Linked DNA regions of Homo sapiens: all the other regions are linked to region 7. The links are contacts of gene promoters, found by promoter capture Hi-C in blood cells and fetal thymus (Javierre and others, 2016). All regions are on one chromosome and are shown on one strand. Each heading gives the region's core, a stretch centred on a gene start or on the middle of the fragment in contact. The rest is flanking DNA. Distances are from core to core; before and after follow the strand shown.

Evidence for each region. Contacts are between HindIII fragments. The CHiCAGO score rates a contact against its expected background, and 5 or more counts as called.
Region 1: a fragment that was not itself captured here is called in contact with the fragment with the promoter of PARP12 in region 7 in 1 of 17 cell types (neutrophils); the score reaches 5.2 in neutrophils.
Region 2: a contact is called between a fragment that was not itself captured here and the fragment with the promoter of PARP12 in region 7, in 1 of 17 cell types (neutrophils). The highest score is 6.5, in neutrophils.
Region 3: a fragment that was not itself captured here is called in contact with the fragment with the promoter of PARP12 in region 7 in 6 of 17 cell types (erythroblasts, M0 macrophages, monocytes and 3 more); the score reaches 10.2 in erythroblasts.
Region 4: a fragment that was not itself captured here is called in contact with the fragment with the promoter of PARP12 in region 7 in 1 of 17 cell types (monocytes); the score reaches 5.2 in monocytes.
Region 5: a contact is called between a fragment that was not itself captured here and the fragment with the promoter of PARP12 in region 7, in 5 of 17 cell types (neutrophils, erythroblasts, total CD4 T cells and 2 more). The highest score is 6.5, in neutrophils.
Region 6: a fragment that was not itself captured here is called in contact with the fragment with the promoter of PARP12 in region 7 in 1 of 17 cell types (monocytes); the score reaches 5.5 in monocytes.

Annotation. Positions count from the first base shown.
Region 1 is chr7:139,720,816-139,723,696 of GRCh38, reverse strand. The region is part of intron 1 of HIPK2 (homeodomain interacting protein kinase 2); the gene reads left to right. Among named protein-coding and RNA genes, the nearest start is that of HIPK2, 56 kb to the left of the region's middle. RefSeq lists a silencer at 2,573-2,867. The HindIII fragment of the contact is 819 bases long and covers 895-1,713 here.
Region 2 is chr7:140,365,678-140,368,608 of GRCh38, reverse strand. The region is part of intron 4 of SLC37A3 (solute carrier family 37 member 3); the gene reads left to right. Among named protein-coding and RNA genes, the nearest start is that of SLC37A3, 31 kb to the left of the region's middle. RefSeq lists enhancers at 1-358, 359-860. The HindIII fragment of the contact is 2,962 bases long and covers 1-2,832 here.
Region 3 is chr7:140,322,290-140,325,445 of GRCh38, reverse strand. No RefSeq gene overlaps it. Among named protein-coding and RNA genes, the nearest start is that of SLC37A3, 75 kb to the left of the region's middle. The HindIII fragment of the contact is 3,208 bases long and covers 259-3,156 here.
Region 4 is chr7:139,764,869-139,767,688 of GRCh38, reverse strand. The region is part of intron 1 of HIPK2 (homeodomain interacting protein kinase 2); the gene reads left to right. Among named protein-coding and RNA genes, the nearest start is that of HIPK2, 12 kb to the left of the region's middle. The HindIII fragment of the contact is 1,634 bases long and covers 598-2,231 here.
Region 5 is chr7:140,346,825-140,349,884 of GRCh38, reverse strand. It overlaps SLC37A3 (solute carrier family 37 member 3), which reads left to right. Exons shown (of 15, transcript NM_207113.3): 10 at 1,118-1,259. Among named protein-coding and RNA genes, the nearest start is that of SLC37A3, 50 kb to the left of the region's middle. The HindIII fragment of the contact is 5,560 bases long and covers 1-3,060 here.
Region 6 is chr7:139,661,009-139,663,924 of GRCh38, reverse strand. The region is part of intron 2 of HIPK2 (homeodomain interacting protein kinase 2); the gene reads left to right. Among named protein-coding and RNA genes, the nearest start is that of HIPK2, 120 kb to the left of the region's middle. The HindIII fragment of the contact is 1,384 bases long and covers 733-2,116 here.
Region 7 is chr7:140,061,455-140,064,586 of GRCh38, reverse strand. PARP12 (poly(ADP-ribose) polymerase family member 12) reads left to right here and starts at 1,636. Exons shown (of 12, transcript NM_022750.4): 1 at 1,636-2,065. The coding sequence starts at 1,740. RefSeq lists an enhancer at 1,489-1,698 and a silencer at 1,709-2,028. The HindIII fragment of the contact is 6,136 bases long and covers 1-3,132 here.

The sequences.
Region 1 (2,881 bases), core at 55-2,554, 340 kb after region 7:
CCTTGTAGTCTGATCTTCCAGTAGATAATTTATTTAGGGGTGGTGAAATGGAAAGGAAATGTTACTCAGATATGAAGCAACTTTTCAGTTCATCTAATTGTGAAATATAAAGTTATGAAGAAACTAAGTAAATAGTGGGGGGAAAATATGCTAAATGAGCCAGTCCCTTAACAAATGTCATTTTTTAAAAAACTGTGTGAGTTGGCTGGGTGCAGTGGCTCACGCCTGTAATCCCAGCACTTTGGGAAGCCGAGGCAGGTGGATCACCTGAGGTCAAGAGTTCGAGACCAGCCTGGCCAACATGCTGAAACCCCATCTCTACTAAAAATACAAATATTAGCTGGGCGTGGTGGCGCACGTCTATAATCCCAGCTACTTGGGAGGCTGAGGCAGGAGATTCGCTTGAACTCGAGAGGCAGAGGTTGTGGTGAGCCAAGATTGCAGCATTGCACTCCAGCCTGGGTGACAAGAGTGAAACTCTGTCTCAAAAAAAAAAAAAAAAGAAGAAAGAAAAAAACCGTAACTGTGTGAGTTAAGACTTCAAGAAATCATGAAGATTTTTAGATATTCTTATTATTACATTATTTGTAGCCCCAGACCAATGAATTTCTCATTAAACCATTAAGACAAAGAGAAACCAAAAGGTGCATAGAATTACATAGGTTTGAAGCCGGGCATGGTGTTATGCTCCTATAGTCCTAGCTACTTGGGAAGCTGAGGCAGGAGAATCATGTGAGCCCAGGAGTTCGAGGCTGCAATGAGCTATGATTGCACCACTGCACTCCAACCTGGGCAACAGAGAGTGAGATCCTGTCCCAAAAAAAAAAAAGAATTTAGATCTAGGTTTGAACTTCTGGGGTCAGGGTCTGATTTTTTTCACTTATCACAGAAGCTTAAACCCATCACATGACTTCCCAGTTTTCAAAGTAGGACCTTTGTGAGAATGAAAGTAGGGAGGGTGCTCTGAATAATTGAATTGGCCTAACAGGGTAAGCATACGTCCAACCGGCAGTAGGACGTATGCTTACCCTGTCCATAAAACATCTGTCCTGGAGCCTGCTGTGTACTTAGTACTCAAGATTTTAAAACCTGGAGACTCATAAGTGTTTTAAGAATCCTGAGGAATAGCAGATGAAGTCAAGTCTAGCATTTTATAGACATAAATGGCATCTATAATTAAGGCTAGAAGGCAGATGTTTTAAAAATAGTATTTTGAAATGCAGACTTGCATACATGCTTTTTATAAATGCAAAATGAGAATTTCAATAAAGTAACTAAAAGAAGGGTCAGAACCCTCATTGCCTTTAGCATATCAAAGTGCACCCTAAGTCTGGGTAACCTGGATTTGTTTCGGCATGAGAGACTTTGTCAGCTTTATGGTAATAAGGAATAATGTCTTACAAATAGTGGACTTTAATTCTTCTAACTATAGCATATATTTTAATGTCAGTTTTATAGGTGCTATTTTTCATTTGTCATATGCAATGAAGAGTTTATTATATATAGTTGTGTAATAGAAGTTGTTTTAAATTTTAATAAATTTGTTCTTCAGTGCTTTTTACTTATCACTTCTGTAGCAACCACATGAACTCGTGTCTGTGTAATTAACAAGCATGTAAGAACCCCATGCATATCTGAGATTCAGTGTTTATGACTTCAGCCTGTTTATGAGACAGAGTGGTATGGTAATAGGCATGCTACTTGTTAAAAGCTTTAGTTCTAGGTTATGGTGACTCCCTGTCCTTTAGTGAATGAAAATGTGGCCATTTTGACAGGTTTTATCTTGGGAGGCCACTAAGGCTTTTGTGGAAAAGTCTGGGTCAGGTCATTCCTGTAGGAGCAGGTGTGGTTATGGCAGATTTATCCTACCGTGACCTCCTGGGTTCCTCTTACTGCTCCCCATGGGCTCGAAACTTGCCCTCCCAAGTCCAGTAGTCCCCCTGGTCTCTCACCTAGAAGGAGTAAAATCCGCCTTCTCTTTCAAGAGCCAACTAGGAAGTGCAGAGATAACTTAAAAAGCAGTTGAGATTTTGCCATTGGATCAAACTGACAATGTGCATTAAGCCTCTGTTTTTCCTGAAAAGGATATTGACAAATGAGGCGGGAAGTAGCCTTGACTAGTCCAGAGGTCAATACAGAAAGAAATGAGAGGAGACATTTAGCTTTTACTTTCAAGTGGAAAAAAACATTGAGTCCCCCTCTGCACCCCCACTTTATTGTCCCTCACTTTAGGATCTGAATAAATAGAGAAGTAATACGTTGTGGGCTCAACTCTCTGAAAGCTAAACTAATAGGGAAGGTTTGTTCCAGAGAAATACTCTCAAGGAGAAATGTTTGGAAATAAGTGTGTTGCCATAAGATTATTTTAAGATTAAGCTACAAAACCACCAGCAGTGTCTTATTCCTTATGAAGGTATTTCAGGGATTTAAAAAAGTATTACTGTTAAAGACTTTAACTATATCTTGTTGGAGCATTTTGCTGCCTGAAGCAAAGTGGCCTCTGCTACAGAACAAAGGTAACACGTCTGCACTGAGCGTTGGGTCCAGTCATTGGAATAGCGGCTGTTGACTTCATAAAGGGGCAGCAGGGGCCACACCAGGCCAGGCCGGAGTCTGAGGCAGCCGGCTGTGGTGCAGGGTGTTTCCAGCCATGTAGGCCTCCTGTCTGATCCTGGGCATCTGTCATCAGAGGCAGCCAGTGATGATTTCCACAATTTTATGACCCTTGGCTGTCATCCCAATAACAAATAAGTCATAAGCCACCCTCTTCCCCTCTGTAAAATTCCACTTCTGCACCGTGGACGGCCTTTCCACCAAGATCTTTTTGAAACAGTGAAAACAGAGACTAGCACCTCACCTTCTTTATGTATGAACAGCGTAT
Region 2 (2,931 bases), core at 102-2,601, 300 kb before region 7:
GGCCTTTATTATTATTATTATGTTTTTAATTTTTTATTTTTGAGACAGAGTTTTGCACTTGTCGCCCAGGCTGGAGTGCAATGGCACAATCTTGGCTCACCACAACCTCCACCTCTCGGGTTCAAGCAATTCTCCTGCCTCAGCCTCCTGAGTAGCTGGGATTGCAGGCATGCGCCACCACGCCCGGCTAATTTTGTGTTTTTTTAGTAGAGACCGAGTTTCTCCATGTTGGTCAGGCTGATCTGGAACACCCAACCTCAGACGATCCGCTTGCCTCGGCCTCCCAAAGTGCTGGGATTACAGGCGTGAGCCACTGCGCTCGGAGTCCTTGGCCTTTAGATGATTTATAGATCAAAACTGTGAGGCTGCGTGAATTGATCAAGAGAACAGGCGAGGGCGGGGAAGAGGTGTGAAACCTGAGCCCTAGGGCTTCCAGTCCTCAGAGGTGGGTGAGGAATGGGCCAGGTAGCGGGGGTGGAGTGGTAAGAAAGGTGGGGCTGGGCGCGGTGGCCCACGCCTGTAATCCTAGCACTTTGGGAGACCGAGGCAGGTGGATAACTTGGGGTCAGGAGTTTGAGACCATCCTGGCCAGCATGAAGAAACCCCATTTCCAATAAAAATACAAAAATTAGCCAGATGTGGGTGCCTGTAGTCCCAGCTACTTGGGAGGCTGAGGCAGAAGAATTGCTTGAACCCGGGAGGAGGAGGTTGCAGTGAGCCGAGATTGCGTCACTGCACTCCAGCCTGGATGACAAAATGAGACTCCATCTCAAAAAAAAAAAAAAAAAGGAAGGTGGGATCCTGGAGAGGTAGCACCCTGGGAGACATTCCACGGTGGCGAGGAGTAATTCAGCGTCAGGATAGGCAGCTGGCGTCTCTGTCTGGCTGTAGGAACAGCTGTGGTGGATGCCACATTAGAGTTCTGGAGCTGATGGTGGCAGCAGCTGGAACGTGGACTGTGAGAGGAGCCTTCCTTTTCTCCCCAGCATATAAGATGCTGTCTTTAAGTATGCCTTATTTCTGTCTTTAAGTGTGCCTTATTAAAAACGCCTTTTAATTCTCAATGTCCAGGCAATGTGAAATACTGGGTAAAAGTTCTGAAGTAGTTTCTAAATGTTTATTTGGTTAGTTATTTTTATTTATTTATTTAATTTTATTGTATTATTATTTTTTGAGACGGAGTCTTGCTCTCTTGCCCAGGCTGGAGTGCAATGGTGCTATCTCAGCTCACTGCAACCTCCGCCTCCTAGTTCCAGTGATTCTCCTGCCTCAGCTTCCTGGGTAGCTGGGATTACAGGTGCACACCATCATGCCCAGCTAATGTTTGTATTTTTAGTAGAGATGGGGTTTCATCGTGTTGGCCAGGCTGGTCTCAAACTCCTGTCCTCAGTTGATCCACTTACCGCTGCCTTCCAAAGTGCTGGGATTACAGGCGTTAGCTACCATGCCTGGCCTATTTTTTTTTTTATTTGAGATGGAGTCTTGCTGTGTTGCCCAGGCTGGAGTGCAGTGGCACAATCTTGGCTCACTGCAACCTCTGCCCCCTGGGTTCAAGCAATTCTGCTGCTTCAGCCTCCTGAGTAGCTGGGACTGCAGACATGTGCCACCATGCCCTGCTAATTTTTTTTGTATTTTTAGTAGAGATGGGGTTTCACCGTGTTGGTCAGACTGGTCTCAAACTCCTGACCTCAAATGATCCGCCCACCTCGGCCTTCCAAAGTGCTGGGATTACAGGTGTGAGCCACTGCGCCCAGCCTATTTGGTTAATTATTAAGAGTATCTTTTCTTCAAAGAGGAAACAGAGAAACAGTTGGAACAGTTCTTTGGTCATTCATTTAGTCTACCTCCTCACCTTGGGTATTTTCTGTATAAAATCCCCATGTAGAGGCACGGGGCTTTGGCTGGAGCTGGTGACAGGGTGCTCGCTTCTCTTCGAGCCACTCATTTCTTTCAGGGACCAGTTTAAGAGGCAGTGTAGTCTAACTAGCTGTGTTAAACTTGGTTGCGAAGTAGAATTTAACCTTTTTTTGGTGTTTAGTTTCCTCATCTATGGAGTCATCTATAGGACTAGATTTAGGACATAAAGGATCAATGCCATGAAAAATCAATGGTCATGGTTTTTTTTTTATCTTGAGCTGCACTTCCTTCTGTAACTTATGGGCATTTTGCTTTCTGCAGCAAAACAGAATGTATTGATTCTGGTGGGGCACGGTGGCTCACGCCTGTAATCCCAGTACTTTGGGAGGCCAAGGAGGGCAGATCACCTGAGGTCAGGAGTTTGAGACCAGCCTGGCCAACATGGCAGAACCCCATCTCTACTGAAAATACAAAAATTAGCCAGGCAAATTCAGTTAGGACCAGGTGTTTCTAATAAATTGACTTATCTCTAAAACTTGGCTGGGCGTGGTGTCTGACGCCTATAATCCTAGCACTTTGGGAGTGGGGAGAATTGCTTGAGGCCAATACTTCAAGACCAAACTGGCCAACATAGCAAGAACCCATCTCTAAAAAAACAAAAATTGGCAGGCCTGTAGTCCCAGCTACTCGGGAGGCTACGGCAGGAGAATTGCTCGAACCTAGGAGACAGAGGCTGCAGTGAGCCAAGATCACATCATTGCATTCCAGCCTGGATGACAGAGTGAGACTCTGTCTCAAAAAAAAAAAAAAAAAAAAAAAAAAAAAAAAAAAAGCATGTATTGTTCTGTCATCTGAAGCAGAATTGAGATTTTCTTCATCCCTTTTGTTCTGTGTAGCATAAGTCCATATGAGGGGCAGCTAGACAACATAGAATCTACTTTAAGGCTGACATGCTTCTCTTAAGATGAGGAAGCTTGATGATAATGAGGGAGAAACGTTCATATTTAAATTTATCTTCTCATTTTTTTTTTGAGATGGAGTCCCACTCTATCGCCCAGGCTGGAGTGCAGTGGT
Region 3 (3,156 bases), core at 613-3,112, 260 kb before region 7:
GGTGGATTGCTTGAGGTCAGGAGTTTGAGACCAGCCTGACCAACATGGCAAAACCCCGTCTCTACTAAAAATGCAAAAATTAGCTGGGCGTGGTGGCGGGCGCCTGTAATCCCAGCTATTTGGGAGGCTGAGGCAGATGAATTGCTTGAACCTGGGAGGTGGAGGAGGAGGTTGCAGGGAGCCGAGATCACGCCACTCCACTCCAGCCTGGGTGACAGAGCGAGACTCTCTCTCTCAAAAAAAAAAAAAAAAAAAGCTTTTTCAAAATGTGATTGAAACACTTCCCCCACTATTGCTTTCTGATCAAACTGGGAGGTCCCAGTTCTTCCCTTTTGAAATTGTTGAGTACCTTCTCATTCTTTGAACGCTACTGATCTTTCCCAACTTGATTTCCTCTTTCCTCCTAATCCTCAATCCCAAGAAACTCTCTAGGCAAAATTCTTTCATTTTCTGTGTTTCAGAGATTCTTGTTCATACTCAACCTTGTCTTCACCAGTCTACAAAACTCTAGAAAGGTCTACATTCTAATCGTTAAAAAAAAAAAAAAAAAAACAAAAAAACAAAAAACTCCTAGTACAGTGCCTGGTAAACAGGAGGTAGAACATTACTTAATGTTTAATTTTCTCTGTTCTTGCTCTAGTGCTTCCTTAGAAAGTTCACTTTTTAATATTTCTTAAAATCTACAAATGACTACCAAATATTTAGCCCTAGCCCCAATTTGTTACTCATTTTCCAGTCTTAGGTTCCCTGGAGATCACTAGGATATCCCAATTTAATATAGCTAGTTTTCTCCAGTCCCTGCAAACCTGCCGCCTAGTGTATCGTATAGGAAATAGTATAACTTTCCTAGTGGTCTTTGTTCAGTAAGCTGCTTGAAATGATTTTGAGGAACCTTAGGAATCGAGCCATGTCTGGATTCTCATTCATGGAGTCGTTCTGATTCCTGGACCACGGGCCCTCAACTGGGCCATGATTCTCACGCTTTCTGGTTTCTCCTTAACTATCGGGGCAGCCCAGTCTTTCAATTCCCCCAGGCTCTCAGCCGCAAGGATCATTTTTGGCACATCTTTCTCTTTTCATGTAGTCAGCCTCCAGGTGTTGCTGATTCTTTCTCCTCCTCACTTTTCCAGTTCATCTTTCATTTTTGTTTCCGAGCCACCATCCTGTGCCTGGGTGACTGATAACAGCCTCATCGCTGGTGCTCCTGCTCCCAGCCTTGCCTCGCTTCACTCTGCCCTCTGCTCAACTCTTAGAATAGTCTTGTTAACGGGACTTTTGCGGTGTTATTCCGCTGCTTAGACACCGAGAGTGACTCTCTTACTTGCTGGATTAAGTGTGAGATCCTGCACGAATCCTCATCTCTAGCTATAAAATCTGAGACAGACCAGAGACCTGTTAGTAAGCAGAGGCTGCACTTTTCTTCTATGGATGTACTGTTTGCAATTAATAGTATTAAACAACTCTCATCTTTTTTTTAAAACAACTTTATTGAGATATAATTTATACATGCCGTACAAGTCATCCATTTAAAGTGCACAAAGGTTTTGGAGACATTCACAGAGCTGTGAATCACCACAATCAATCGTAGAATATTTTCATCATCCCCCCAAGAAACTCCATACCCATTAGCACTCACTCTCCATTTCCTCCACGCCCCTAACCCCTGGCATCCATCACACTTCTGTGTCTATAGATTTCAGACATTTCTTCTAAATGAAATTGAACAGCATGTGGCCTTTAGTGACTAGCTTCTTTCACATAGCATCATCGTTTCAAGGTTCATCTGTGTTGAAGCATGTATCAGTATTTCATTTCTTTTTATTGCATAAAATATTTCCATTGTATGGATATACCACATTTTTTGCATCCAGTCATCAGTTGATGGACATCGGGTTGTTTGTCTTTATTTTATGTAATTCACATACTCGAAACTCCACCCCTTTACAATGTAAAATTCATTTTTTTTTTTTTTAGTTTATTCGCAGAGTTATGTGACCATCACCACTATCTAACTTTAGGACATTTTCATCACCCCAAAAAGGAACCCTCCACCCATTAGCAGTCCACTCCACTCTCCCCACTCCCCTGCTTCTGGAAAATACTGCTTTCCATTTTGTGTGGATGGATTTTCCTCCTCTAAACATGGCATATGAATGGAAAGATGCAATGAATGGAAGAATGTCTTTTGTGACAGGCTGCTTCTACTTACATAATGTTTTCAAGGTGATTCTGTGTTTTCTTCGATTCTGTATTTGTCTATTTGGCATTCATTCATCACGGGCCTACTGGATTAACTATATTTTCTTATTTTCTATAATCTTGATGTCTTGTCATTCATGGCCTGGCTGACTGGGAGACACTGCCCCTCCCAGAGTGAGCCAGTTCTTAGAGATAAGCCCAGGCCTGGCCCAGGAGAACACCTTTCATTTGCAAACGAATCAGCGGTCTTCTTTATCAAACTCTCACACCAAGCTAATCTTCCCCTGCCCTTAATCAACCCAGCGACAGGCACCAGGCAACTAGCCGACAGCCCCTGTGCTCTAAAACCTGGCAAAATTATTTACGCAGTCAGTCCTCAACTGTTTAACCCTGACCTGTCTTGCCTTTCCTGCAGAAAACACAATAAAGTCTCTGGCCCTGGCTTTTCCCTCACCCTTCTGCCTCCTGTCCAAAATCGGTGCTTCCCCATGTGGCCCTACATGGCCTGGCTTCCCCTCCTGTCAGGGGCTGTAGGTCATAAAAGCCTTCTTTCAGTGGCATGGACCTCTGTGTAGTCACTTGGTTACCTCCATAAATTAAACTCTTGTGGGTACAATTGAGCCAAATGCTTGTTTAGGTTGCAGCATGTATCTGTTCTTCAGTACTTTTTTTTTTTTTTTTGAGATAGAGTCTTGCTCTATCACCCAGGCTGGAGTGCAGTGGCATGATATCTGCTCACTGCAACCTCCGCCTGCCGGGTTCAAGCGATTCTCCTGCCTCAGCCTCCCAAGTAGCTGGGGATACAGGCACACGCCCCACAACGCCTGGCTAATTTTTGTGTTTTTAGTAGAGACAGGGTTTCACCATGTTGGGCAGGCTGGTCTTGACCTCCTGACCTCAGGTGATCCACCCACCTCGGCCTCCCAAAGTGCTGGGATTACAGGTATGAGCCACTGC
Region 4 (2,820 bases), core at 165-2,664, 300 kb after region 7:
TCCTAAAGCAAAGCTGATGAAACTGACCCATTTCCTGTTGCTTGCCAAAGTAGTTCAGTAACCAGTATGTTCCTTCTGCTGGTGAAACCTGACAGAGAACCTGGTAATTCTGACAGCTGTTATGTTTTGTGGGTTTCAGCCACTGACTTCCATGGCCTCTCCTACCATCCTTCTTTGATGGCGTCTCTGCTCTCTGCTTCCACCTATTTATTTTTTCCCACTTGTCTACCCACAGAGCCAGGCTCCCTTACCTACCTGTTTATTCTTTGACTGTGTGTTCCTTGAGCGTGTATTTGCCTTGTTTTACTTGTAGGTGTGAAGGTCTAAGTGGATGTACACACAGAACCTTCTTTGGGGTGTATTTGTGTAAGGGACTGTCTGGAAGAAGTGGTTCTTCAACCTTTTTGCCCTTCAGTTCTCTGGAGGGCTTGTTACAACAGATTGCTGGGTTTCACCCCCAGAGTCTCTAATTCAGTAGGTCTGTGGTAGGCTTGAGCATTTGCATTTCCAGTTGAGGACCATTGTTTTGGAAGAGTACATTCAGAACAAAAAGTCAGAAATATTTAGAATCAGATGGTGGTTGTTTTGGTGAAAGCTTTTCTTGGATGTGAGAGAGTCAGGGACCTGGCCTTAGCATTCTTCGCAATTCTACTGCCTTTTGTGGCTGTGACTTCCAGAAGCCATAGGCACATGCAGATCCAGCCTCCGACTTCCTCTCCTCTCACCTGCCTTCACATCTTCTCAGGGAAGGTCACAAAGTGCAGGAGCCACTTTCTCTTGTTCATTCAGAGCCAGCTGGTCTGTGTAGTTCATCCAGTTTGGTCTTGGGGCCCCAGAATAAAATGGGCCAAATATCATCCTCACAATAGTAATACACTATTATTAACTAATATTTAAGAGCTCTATGATTTTCTCCATTTACAGAAGAGGAAATTGAGGCTTAGAGATATGAAATAATGTATGCAAGGACTCATAACAAGTAATTGGTAGAGCCAGAGTTTGAACCTCAGTCCACTTGTCGCCAGCGCATGCCCTTATCTTCACTGGCAGGCCACCCTGCTTCTTGCAGGTAAGTTAGAGTGATCCATGCCATGTGCAAGACTGACTCCGGTAAGAAGGATCTGGGATCCTCCTTGGAAAAGAGGCAATCAAGCTGGAGACCGAAGGTGCTAACACAGATTTCTGTGACACTCTTGTTCCATTTGTCCTGTTCATCAAACAGGGTCAAGTGAGGTGGTGAATGTACAGCACTTGGACCTGTGGCTGGCATGTAGGAATGTGGTAGAGGGCAGCCAAGCCATGAGTCCCCTTTGAGAGCAAAACATATCAAATATTCAGGAATACTCTTACTGAGACCTCTAAGGAAAAACATGTTATGGGAAGATGATCATAACAGCTAATACCGCACACTTGCTATTGCCAGTTCTGCACTAAGATTTTACATGTGTGAATTCATTGAATCCCTGTAGTAACACTCAAAAGAGGTTCCACTTCCACAGTGTTACACAGAGGCACAGGCAGGTGAGGCAGCTCCTGAGTGCAGAGATGGGATCGACTCCAGGCAGTCTGAGTCCAGAGCTGACTCCTGACCACCAGCTGCACAGTAGAGACTCTTCCTCATCCCTCCTAGATGAGAGAGGGCAACTTGTAAATACATTGGTTCTTCTCCAAGTATCAATGGTCTTTGTTTTCATCAAAATCTGGATAAGTATTTTAAAACTTGAGAGACCAATTTCTGTTGCTTTTCTTGAAAGATAAGGTGGTAGGACATAGGTTAGGCATGGACCATAAGAGTGGTGAAGGGGTTAGCTCTATCCAGTGTCAAACCATAATGCTTCAAATCTGGGACAAAATTTGACAGACCCATCCATGGGGCAGAAGGGGGGAGGCAGATTTCAGGTTCCATAGTCTGTGAGCATTTAACAGAAGATGGAGGAGGTGCTGTGAGGCCATGGGGAAAGGAAGGCTGATTACCTGAATGGGAATGGGACTATATGAGAGCAATCTGAAAAATCTCAGTGGGTATCATCACCTCACATCATTACACCAATGTAAATTCTGCCTGATTAAAATGTGAGGTTTGACAAAAATATGTTCAAAATACATTCAGTGTTCTGGGGACTCTCCTAGGTGCCAAGTGTACAGCATTGAGCAAAACAGATAAAATTCCTGCCCTGAAGCAGCTTGCGTTTTAGCAGATAAAGACAAACGTTCCACTTTTTTACAAAGCTTTTTACAAAAGCTTGAAGGAAATGGAAGTGGATATTTATTAAACCTCTGGAGGAGTTGAAATTTCTAAGATTAGAAGCTGTAGATGAACTCACAGAGGAAAATATTATTAGTCTTGTCAGCATAAACATTCCCCAAATGTTAAGGTTATTTACTATCATGAGTTATTCCTCAGTGTAATTCTATGTAACATTGAGGTTTGTCTAGATGTTAGGATAGGTCCTCCAAAGTAGATATACTAGGTCAAGGGATTTGAACATCTGTTGGGTTCTAGATACATCACCAGGTTAATTTCCTTGCCAAAGTTTAATTTTTTTTTTTTTTGAGACAGAGTCTCGCTCTGTCATCTAGACTGGAGTGTAGTGGCATGATCTCAGCTCACTGCAACCTCTGCCTCCTGGGTTCAAGAGATTCTCCTGCCTCAACTTCCTGATTAGCTGGGATTACAAGCACCCGCCACCATGCCCGGCTAATTTTTGTATTTTTAGTAGAGACAGCCTTTCACCATGTTGGCCAGGCTGGTCTCAAATTCCTGACTTCAGGTGATCCACCTGCCTCAGCCTCCCAAAGTGCTGGGATTACAGGCGTGAG
Region 5 (3,060 bases), core at 219-2,718, 290 kb before region 7:
CTGGTTTTTAAAGTACTCTGCTGGTAATAGTTTAATTTTTGAGAAAGAACTTTGTCGTGACTAAATATGGACCTCTTTTGCTGTTCCTTTGTTCTTCACAAGCTATTGTTCTCTGACATGGGCAGGGATGTAAAGGAAATCTAGTTAACTTAATTCCTTTGTCTTTGTAGCAGGCTGTCTGGTCAGAATGCACTCGTGATTGGGATTTGGCTCTCTAGGGGGTGGCTGTTGCCTGCCAGGGAAGCTGTTTTAAAACAAGTGATACCTAGGGAATAACTGGCAGCTCCAGGGAAAAGAATATACTAGCCAGACACCCTTTGAAGTCAGCCCCTCTGTCCCCCCCCCCTTTTTCCTTTGATGCTGAATGTCAGGATTTCCTGGTAGTAATGTGTTGAATATAGGAGTCTCAGCCCCACCACCATCTTCATGCAGCTGCAGCATTTTTTTCCCCTCAAGGGAGAGCCACGAGGCCGATGATGACATGTTCTTTCATTTTTGACTCGCCAGAGAGACTCTCTTCTTTGCCACCAGACCAGGGAATGTGGAGCTTTTGAAAACTAGTGTGAAAGGAATTATCATGCTGCTGCTTTTCTTAGACCGTGGAACTGTAGTGTAGTCCCTTTGCTGTCCATTGTTCACAGTGTTGCCTTGGCAAGGAGTAGAATAACCAACCCCGTTTGGCTGCTCCCAGTAAAGGCCGTGATGCTTCCTGGACTTCTTTGCCTATGGTTAACGCTGGTTAGTGGCATGAATACCATTCCTCTTTGTGTGAATAAAGAAATATGGGTATGTGCTCTGCCTTATAGGTTCAAAACACTGGCTTGCTTCTACCAGAGAACTGATAGGAGGAGAAACTGGACACAGCTAAGAAGTAGCCATAGGTGTTTTTTATTCCAAAGGCCTGCTGTACATGCCTGTCTAGAAGTTAACAGGGATGAAGAGCAGAGGGAGACTAGCTGAAGTCAGGCATGTGGGAGTTTGTAGAGATGTTTAACTGTAAAATCAGGTTCTGTTCATCCTAACTTCCTTTATTTTGTTTTGCTTTTAAATGACATTAAAAATGGTAGTCGTGCTGTGCTATTTGTCCCTCGCTGATAGTTGAATGCTTTTCTTGTAGTACTCACTGGCCTACGCCTGCTTGAAGTTAGTGAATTACTCCTTCTTCTTCTGGCTCCCCTTTTATCTGAGTAACAACTTCGGCTGGAAGGAGGCGGAAGCCGACAAGCTGTCCATTTGGTACGACGTTGGAGGGATCATAGGTATGCCGGTGATACATCTTTTCCATAATAAAGAGTTAGTCACTAGTGATCTTTTACTGGGTTGTGAAATCTGGCCTCATTTAAAGTTTTATTACTTATTCTACAGCCATTTTCCCTAAACTGTCCTACTAGTAAACAGCCAAACTCAAAAAAAAAAAAAAAAGAAAAGAAAAGAAAAGAAAAAACAAGAGGTCCATAGAAAGGAAGACCTAGCCTAAGGCAGCGCTGTGATTTATTGGACTCTTTTTTCTTAGTCCTTTGTTGATGGATCAGTTCTTTTGTCTCGGGAAGCACATGGGAATCTCTTTAAATGCAATCCTTTCATACGGCTTTCTCAGTGATATCTTAGCTCTAAAGCTAATTGTATGTCAGAGATCCAAGTTAGAATATGAACGTGTTCATTGTATCTACCTCCCACCTTCCCCACCTTCCCCAGCCTAATAAGGAAGAATACACCAGTCCCCCACTTATCTGTGGTTTCACTTTTCGAAGTTTCAGTTACTCTTAATACCGTACAATAAGATATTTTCAGAGAGACCATTCATATAACTTATGTTACAGTATATTGTTATTATTTTCTATTTTGTCGTTATTGTTAATTTCTGTGCCCAACTTATAAATTAAACTTGATCGTGGGTATGTATGTATAGAAAAAAACATAGTATGTATAGAGTTTGGTACTGTCTGTGGTTTCAGGTATCCACGGGGGTCATGGAACATATCTGCTGAGGATAAAGGGGAAATACACCTTAGTGTGTAGGTCGTCAGATCATAGAGGTAGACGTAACAGCAGGGATTAATTTTTGTGAATGTTTTACAGTTGTTTCATTATAAACAAAGATTTTAATAGTGGTTTTTTTTTTTTTTGCTGTAGCTAGAAGTATCAACAAGGAGGTAATAAGTATGAACAAGGAAGTAAGGCAGAGGAGCAGAATGTATTTTAGTGGGTATTACTTACATGGCTGTGCCAGATCTTAATAACCTTCAATAATGTTAACATTTAGAATTGTGGTGAGACTCAACTGCCGTGAGCTTGTGAAAGCACACAGTCTGTGCTAGGCAATCTGCTATTACTGTATTTGAACTTGGCTGCCCGTATTCTTAAATCCAGAGCCAAAGGTGAGGTTGCCACCGTTAGACCTCACCATATTCTGTATCCTCTGAAGTTGAAATTGTCCAGCTGCCTGCTATCTGATAAGGACACACCAGATGTCCAATAGCCCCTACAACTCAGAATGGTGCTGTATGTGACATTGTTGCTTGAAAGATTCATATCCCTGCTTTTTAAAGATTGTGTCCTATTAGCAAACCATAACTGCTAAATTTTATTTTAGTGAATATTTACTAGCCACTTTTTTTTTTCTTTTTTTTTTTTTTTGGAGATGGGGGTACTGCTCTGTCGCCCACGCTGGAGTGGCACGATCTTGGCTCACTGGAGCCACAACCTCCTGGGCTCAAGCGATCCTCCCTAAGTACCTGGGGCTACAGTCATGCACCACCACACCCAGCTAATTTTTTTGTATTTTTTGTAGAGATGGCATTTCACTGTATTGCCCAGGCTGGTCTCAAACTCCTGAGCTCAGGCAATTTGCCCACCTCGGCCTCCCAGAGTGCTGGGATTACAGGCGTGAGCCACTGTGCCCACCTACTGGCCTCAATATACTGTAAGGCACAGTTTTTTTGGTTTTTGAGACACGGTCTTGCTCTGTTGCCCAGGCTAGAGTGCAGTGGCACAATACAGCTCACTGTAGCCTCAGCCTCCTGGGTTCAAGCAGCACGATACGGTTCACCACAGCCTCAA
Region 6 (2,916 bases), core at 175-2,674, 400 kb after region 7:
GGACAAGAATATTTCTGAGAGCTGGTGAAGGAAGACTCGTGGGCCGGCATTATGGGTGGGCTTCGGGAAAGCAGGAGATAGAATTGAGGAAGTTCCTGGCTAGTTCCTTCTCCTTGCTCAGTCTGTCTCCAGCTTCAAAGGTCAGCACTGTGGAGAGTGCTAAAGTCTCAAGGTTAAATTTTACCCCAGAGTCTAATTGAATTTAACTTTTACATTTTGTTTGTTTGTTTCTAATGTCTCAAAAGCCTGTTTTACCCAAAGCTATTTACAGTTGCCGTTGGGTTGGGATCCCTAACGTAGATGAATAGCTTTGTTTCAGGTCTGCCCTGCCTGGAGCCCCTCCTTCCCACCAGTTACCTTTATGGTTACATATGGTTTGGCATAGAATACCAGTAAAATACCAGTAGACACAGCTGAGGTGCTCTTTTTTGTTTCTGAAGGATTTTCAGTATAGTGTCATATCCGAACGTCAGGACAGTGGAGGAAGCCCACGAGGCCTCCAGCTCATCAGTGGCAGAGCCAGCATTCAGGGCCCCTGTGACTCTCCAGCTGCATTGCACTGCTGCCCCTGAGCTGTAAACCCGCTTCCTAGTTAGGAAGAAAGCTGAATTAGGTGATCTCCAGTCCAGCCTTCCAAGTAAGGCTTCTGTGAATCCATGGCTGTAAGCATTTGAATGAATGTCGTATAAAGAAGGTGAAGGTCAGTGGAGACCAGAACTGGGAGGAGAAGCTTCATGGTGGAGGGGACTTGAAGTGCACTCTGAAAGGCCAGTGGGCATGAGAAGGGCAGGATGCAGGGAGAGTTCCTGGGCTGAGGGAAGTGTGAGCAGGAATTAGTGTCGAAGGTCATGGACAGAAAGGAGCTGGCCTGAAACCCAGTCAGAGGCCATGGTGGCCAGTGGGAAGGTGGGGTCTGATGATGGAGAGCCCTGATAGTCAGAGACAGGACTTGGATAGTGTCAGGAATGTCTGAACAGCAGGGCAACATGAAGAAAGTGGCATTTTAGGCCAGGCACGATGGCTCATGCCTGTAATCCCAGCACTTTGGGAGGCCGAGGCAGGCAAATCACTTGAGGTCAGGAGTTCGAGACCAGCCTGGCCAGCATGTGAAACCCCATCTTTACTAAAAATACAAAGATTAGCTGGGTGTGGTGGCGTGCACCTGTAATCCCAGCTACTTTGAAGGCTGAGGTAGGAGTAACGCTTGAACCCAGGAGGTGGAGGTTGCAGTGAGCCGAGATCACGCCACTGTGCTCCAGCCTGGGTGACAGAGCGAGACTCCGTCTCAAAAAAAAAAAAAAAAAAAAGTGGTGTTTTAGGAAACTTCGCCTGGCAGTCGTACACAGGAGAGACAGCTAGGGACAGGCTTGTACACCCCTGGTATATGGCCCGAGTGGTAAACTCAACCTGAATGTGATTGATTCCCAAGGAAATTTCTTACAGGATTTCTTTGGCAAGTGGTTTATAAGCAACGATAGAAAGACCACAGGGTACCCATGTGACCTCACTGAGGAAAAAGGCATGCCAAATGAATCCCATTTATTTTCTTCATAACATTCTCAGAGAGTTCTGGCAGGGAAATAACAGACAAATCCTTACCTTTATACAGTGCTTTCCTGCTAAAAGTACATTCTAAATTTCAACTAGGCACTTGACAAGTGTGTGAAATTCTGTGAGCAAGATGGAGAAACATAGATTGGAGAGTGGTGCCGCTGGCTGGATGTTAGCTAAGGACTATACTCAAAGAGCATGGATTAAAGAGGGCGAGGTCCCTTGTAGATGCTGCAAAAATCTATGTGAGTGAATTGAATGAAGACATAAAAGGCTTTTTAGCACGTTTGTGGGTAACACCCTTTGGAAGAATAAAGAAGATCTCAGTAGAGGTCAGAAGCCAAGCTAAACATATAACAGTTGGTGAGAATAATGTAGTCTTAGCAAGTGTATTTTAATAATCAATTAATGTGAAAAACCTGAAATAATATTAAAAGACTCTGGGAGGAGGGAAAGGCTTTGGGGGAGATAGTTATGTAAGGATGAATGGTTAGTATCAGGTGGCTGTCAAAAGGGTTAATGCAATCTTAGGAGAGTAAGAAAAGCATAGTATTTAGAGCAAGCTTGTCCAGCCTGCAGGCTGCATGCAGCCCAGGACAGCTTTGAATGTGGCTCAACACAAATTCCTAAACTTCCTTAAAACATATGAGATTTTTTTGTGTGTGTGATTTTTTTTTAACTAATCAGCTATCATTAGTGTTAGTGTATTTTATGTGTGATGCAAGACAATTCTTACTCTGATTAGCACAAGGGAGATAATGGCCCCATTGTGTTATGTTACATTTGGGACATTTTTATGTTCATTGTATTGTGGGTGGGCTGTTATACTTTTGATGTGAAGGGTAGTAGAAGGATCTGGGGATATGTTTCAGCATGGAGAAGAAAGGAGAAGACCCCAAGGTTCATGACCACTGTCTTCAAGTATGTAAAAGGTTGCCATGTTGAAGACACCACAGATGGGTAGACTTATCCTGCACTTCTCCAGTGGGCATACTTAGGGCATTCTAAGCTAGGCAGATGTTAGACTTCATGAGCAGCTCACCAGTGGAGAGCAAAACAGGTTTGGTGTACAGCTGTCAGGGATTCTGTAGAAGAGACGCTTATATTGGGTGTCGGATTGTTCTCCAGGGTTTCTAGTGTGTTAAGTATTATCCAGTGGTGTGCTGGAGCCAGTTCATACCAGCTTGCAGGAGCTGGTTGTTAAATAATGAGGATTTTTAAGGGCTAGTAGTTAAAATGTTGTTTGCTTGAAATGGGCCATGGAAGCAGTATTTATACCAAGGAAATTGGCAATAGATCAACCCCACCCCACCCCACCCCTACCCAGTGTCAGCATGCCAGCATACCACCAGTATTATCCATAAT
Region 7 (3,132 bases), core at 387-2,886:
TTTGTAGTAATAGTACAGGTAATTTTTTTTTTTTTTTTAAAGATGGAGTCTCACTCTGTCGCCCAGGCTGGAGTGCAGTGTCATGATCTCCGCTCACTGCAATCTCTGCCTCCCGGATTCAAGCGATTCTCCTGCCTGTCTCCCGAGTAGCTGGGATTACTGGCGCCCGTTACCACGCCCGGCTAATTTTTACGTTTTTAGCAGAGACGGGGTTTCACCACGTTGGCCAGGCTGGTCTCAAACTACTGACCTCAAGTGATCCGCCCGCCTTGACCTCCCAAAGTGCTGGGATTACAGGCGTGAGCCACTGTGCCTGGCCTATAGTTAAGATTTTTATATTCATTTTTAGTGAATGTTATACCGTATACCGTAAGTACTCTCCCCCCACAATCCTTCTGCCTCTCATCTTCCCTTTTCCATTTTCCTAATACCTCCTACTGCCTCCTCTCAACTACCCTTGTGTGTTTCTTCATCTTTCTCCGTGCTTATTCAAAAATATCCTGCCACACACACACACACAGGCTTCTCTTTTTGTTATTCAGACATTTAAAAAAATTAATTCTTGATCATTCAACTTGATTATTTAGACATTTCTGTACAGCCATCTTTTCTCGTTTACCACCACATCATGGCTGTCTGCCCCTCTACATCCGCACACGGAGCTCTAACGCATGCTTGTTAAACAGCCTTCGTAATAGTCTTTAAAGATCAACCACACTGTTCCCACGTAACCCTACCTCCCAGGTAGGGTTCCCCCAGTAACACTTTCACACATAACTTATTTACTGTTCCTTTTACTTCTGGAAGATTCCGAGAGGAAAGATTGCTGGGTCAAAGGTCACACGCGTTTTCAATTTTAATAGCTATTCCTGGATTACCTCCTCAAAGGGCTCTAACAACTCGCATTGCTCTCAGCGTGTGAGAGGGTCCTTTGCTCTGAAGGGTCTTCTAAAATATTTGTTCAATCGTTACTTAGCAGGGGCTGGGAGTAACGGATTTTATTTTATTTTATTTTATTTTTTGAGACGGAGTCTCGCTCTGTCGCCCAGGCTGGAGTGCAGTCGCGCAATCTCGGCTCACGGATTTGCTCTTTTAAAGGACATACCCTTTTATGTTTAAATGAAGGAACTCATTGATGCACCGAGGCGAAAGGAACCTTTAATTAAGTGCGTCTTCTATGCGGAGTGATCGCTTTTGTCACTTGTTCGAGGGGTGAGAGCTCCCGTCAGTTGTCCCTGTTTCTGTGAGCCGTCTACGAAGCCCGGGCTTGGCCTGGGCGACGCTGAGCGGCTTTAACCGGCGGCGTCCAGCCGGCTCCGCCAGCGCTGCCGCCGCCCTCGAGGCTCCCTCTGACTGAAGGCGCGCTGAGCATCGCGGCATTAGGGGCTCCTGGTCCCTCAAACATCCAGGGAAGCCATTTTCAGGGACTAGGTACTGACCCCCGCGAGCCGCCACAGCCACAGCCCGCGCTCCGGGCCGAACGCCCGAGCTCAAGAGCTCCCGAGCTTCCGTCGGGCGGCGGCCTCACAGCTGGGGGCCCTGAGGCGGAAGGCGCAGCCGCTCAGCTGCGGACCGGGGGCGTGGCGAGGGCGCACAGGTTCTGTTTTTCGCCGGCCCGGGGCCGCTTTCGGTTTCGTTTCCCGCCGGCGTCTCCACCCTGCGAGAGCCGCCCGCCAGCCAGCGTCCGCCGCCGTCCGCGTCGCGCCACCCGCGGTCCGACGGGAGCAGGCCCAGCGGCCATGGCCCAGGCCGGCGTCGTCGGTGAGGTCACCCAGGTGCTGTGCGCGGCCGGGGGCGCCCTGGAGTTGCCCGAGCTGCGGCGCCGCTTGCGGATGGGCTTGAGCGCCGACGCGCTGGAGCGGCTGCTGCGGCAGCGTGGGCGCTTCGTGGTGGCGGTGCGGGCGGGCGGCGCAGCCGCGGCCCCGGAGCGCGTGGTGCTGGCCGCCTCGCCGCTGCGCCTGTGTCGCGCGCACCAGGGCTCCAAGCCGGGCTGCGTGGGGCTCTGCGCGCAGCTCCACCTCTGCAGGTTCATGGTCTACGGCGCCTGCAAGTTCCTGAGAGCCGGGTAAGGCGCCGCGCCGGGAGCGACGGCGGGCGGAGGTCCTGCGCGCCCTCACGCACTTCCAGCCCGCTTGGGGGTCCTACTTGAAGTTTGAGCAGACAATTCGGTGGCTCTGCCCTGACCTCGCACCGTCATTCACTAAAGCGAGCGTTTAATGAGCACCTGCGGAGTACCTGGCACAGTGCGAGGGACTCAGGGTCGAGTGGGGTCCTCTAGACGCCTGGGGGGAGAGAGTGATTTACATAGAGCATGGTAGTGCCGGGTGGAACACCCGGGTGTGGCCGTGTGGGGTGGGGAGGGAGGGAGGCGGCGGCTTAGGGGAACTCCACGACGCCGCGGGTCGCCCCTTGCCAGCTTTGAGGCCAGACAATGAAGGTTTTCTCTGCCCAGCAGCTGGTAGAGATCTTTAAACCCAGTTCAACCCTATTAATCTGCTTACAAACTGGAAAATGCAGACTCCCTGCCATCGCCCACAAGGTCCTGGGGCACTGGTCCCTGCCCACCCAGGACCCTTCTGTGACTGGAACACCCCCCCCCCCCCGGGCATTTCTGGGAGCCTGGGCATTTCTGGGAGTCTTTGCTCTGCCTGGAATGCCCTTCTTGCTCTTGGTTGGCCCTATTTGTTAATCCTTCAGGCCTCAACCTAAAGATCACATCCCATTTGAGGATTTTTCCTCCCCTTACTCTTGGTCACAGGGAACTGTTTATTTTCCTCATGGCACCCAGCTGCCAGTAGAATAGAAACTCCCTGAGGGCAGAGGCTCCAGCTGTCTCCCCAGCACTTAGCGTCCATGTTCTGTGCATAGCATGTGGCCAGTGGGATGTGTGGAAGGGATTGCTGAGGTTTATGCTAAAGAATTTGGGCCTCACCCTGGAGGTGATGGGGCGGGTAAAATGGCAGGAGAGAGCAACCATCAGGTTTGCGTTTTAGGAAGTCTAAGGTAGTGGTGTGGGTGCCAATTTAAGGGAGGATGTTGTGGGGGAACCACTGGGAAGCTAGTCATCAAGGAGAATTCCTTCCTCCCCTGCTCCCTCCTTTCTTGCTTGCTCCCTGTTTTGTGTGTGTGTGT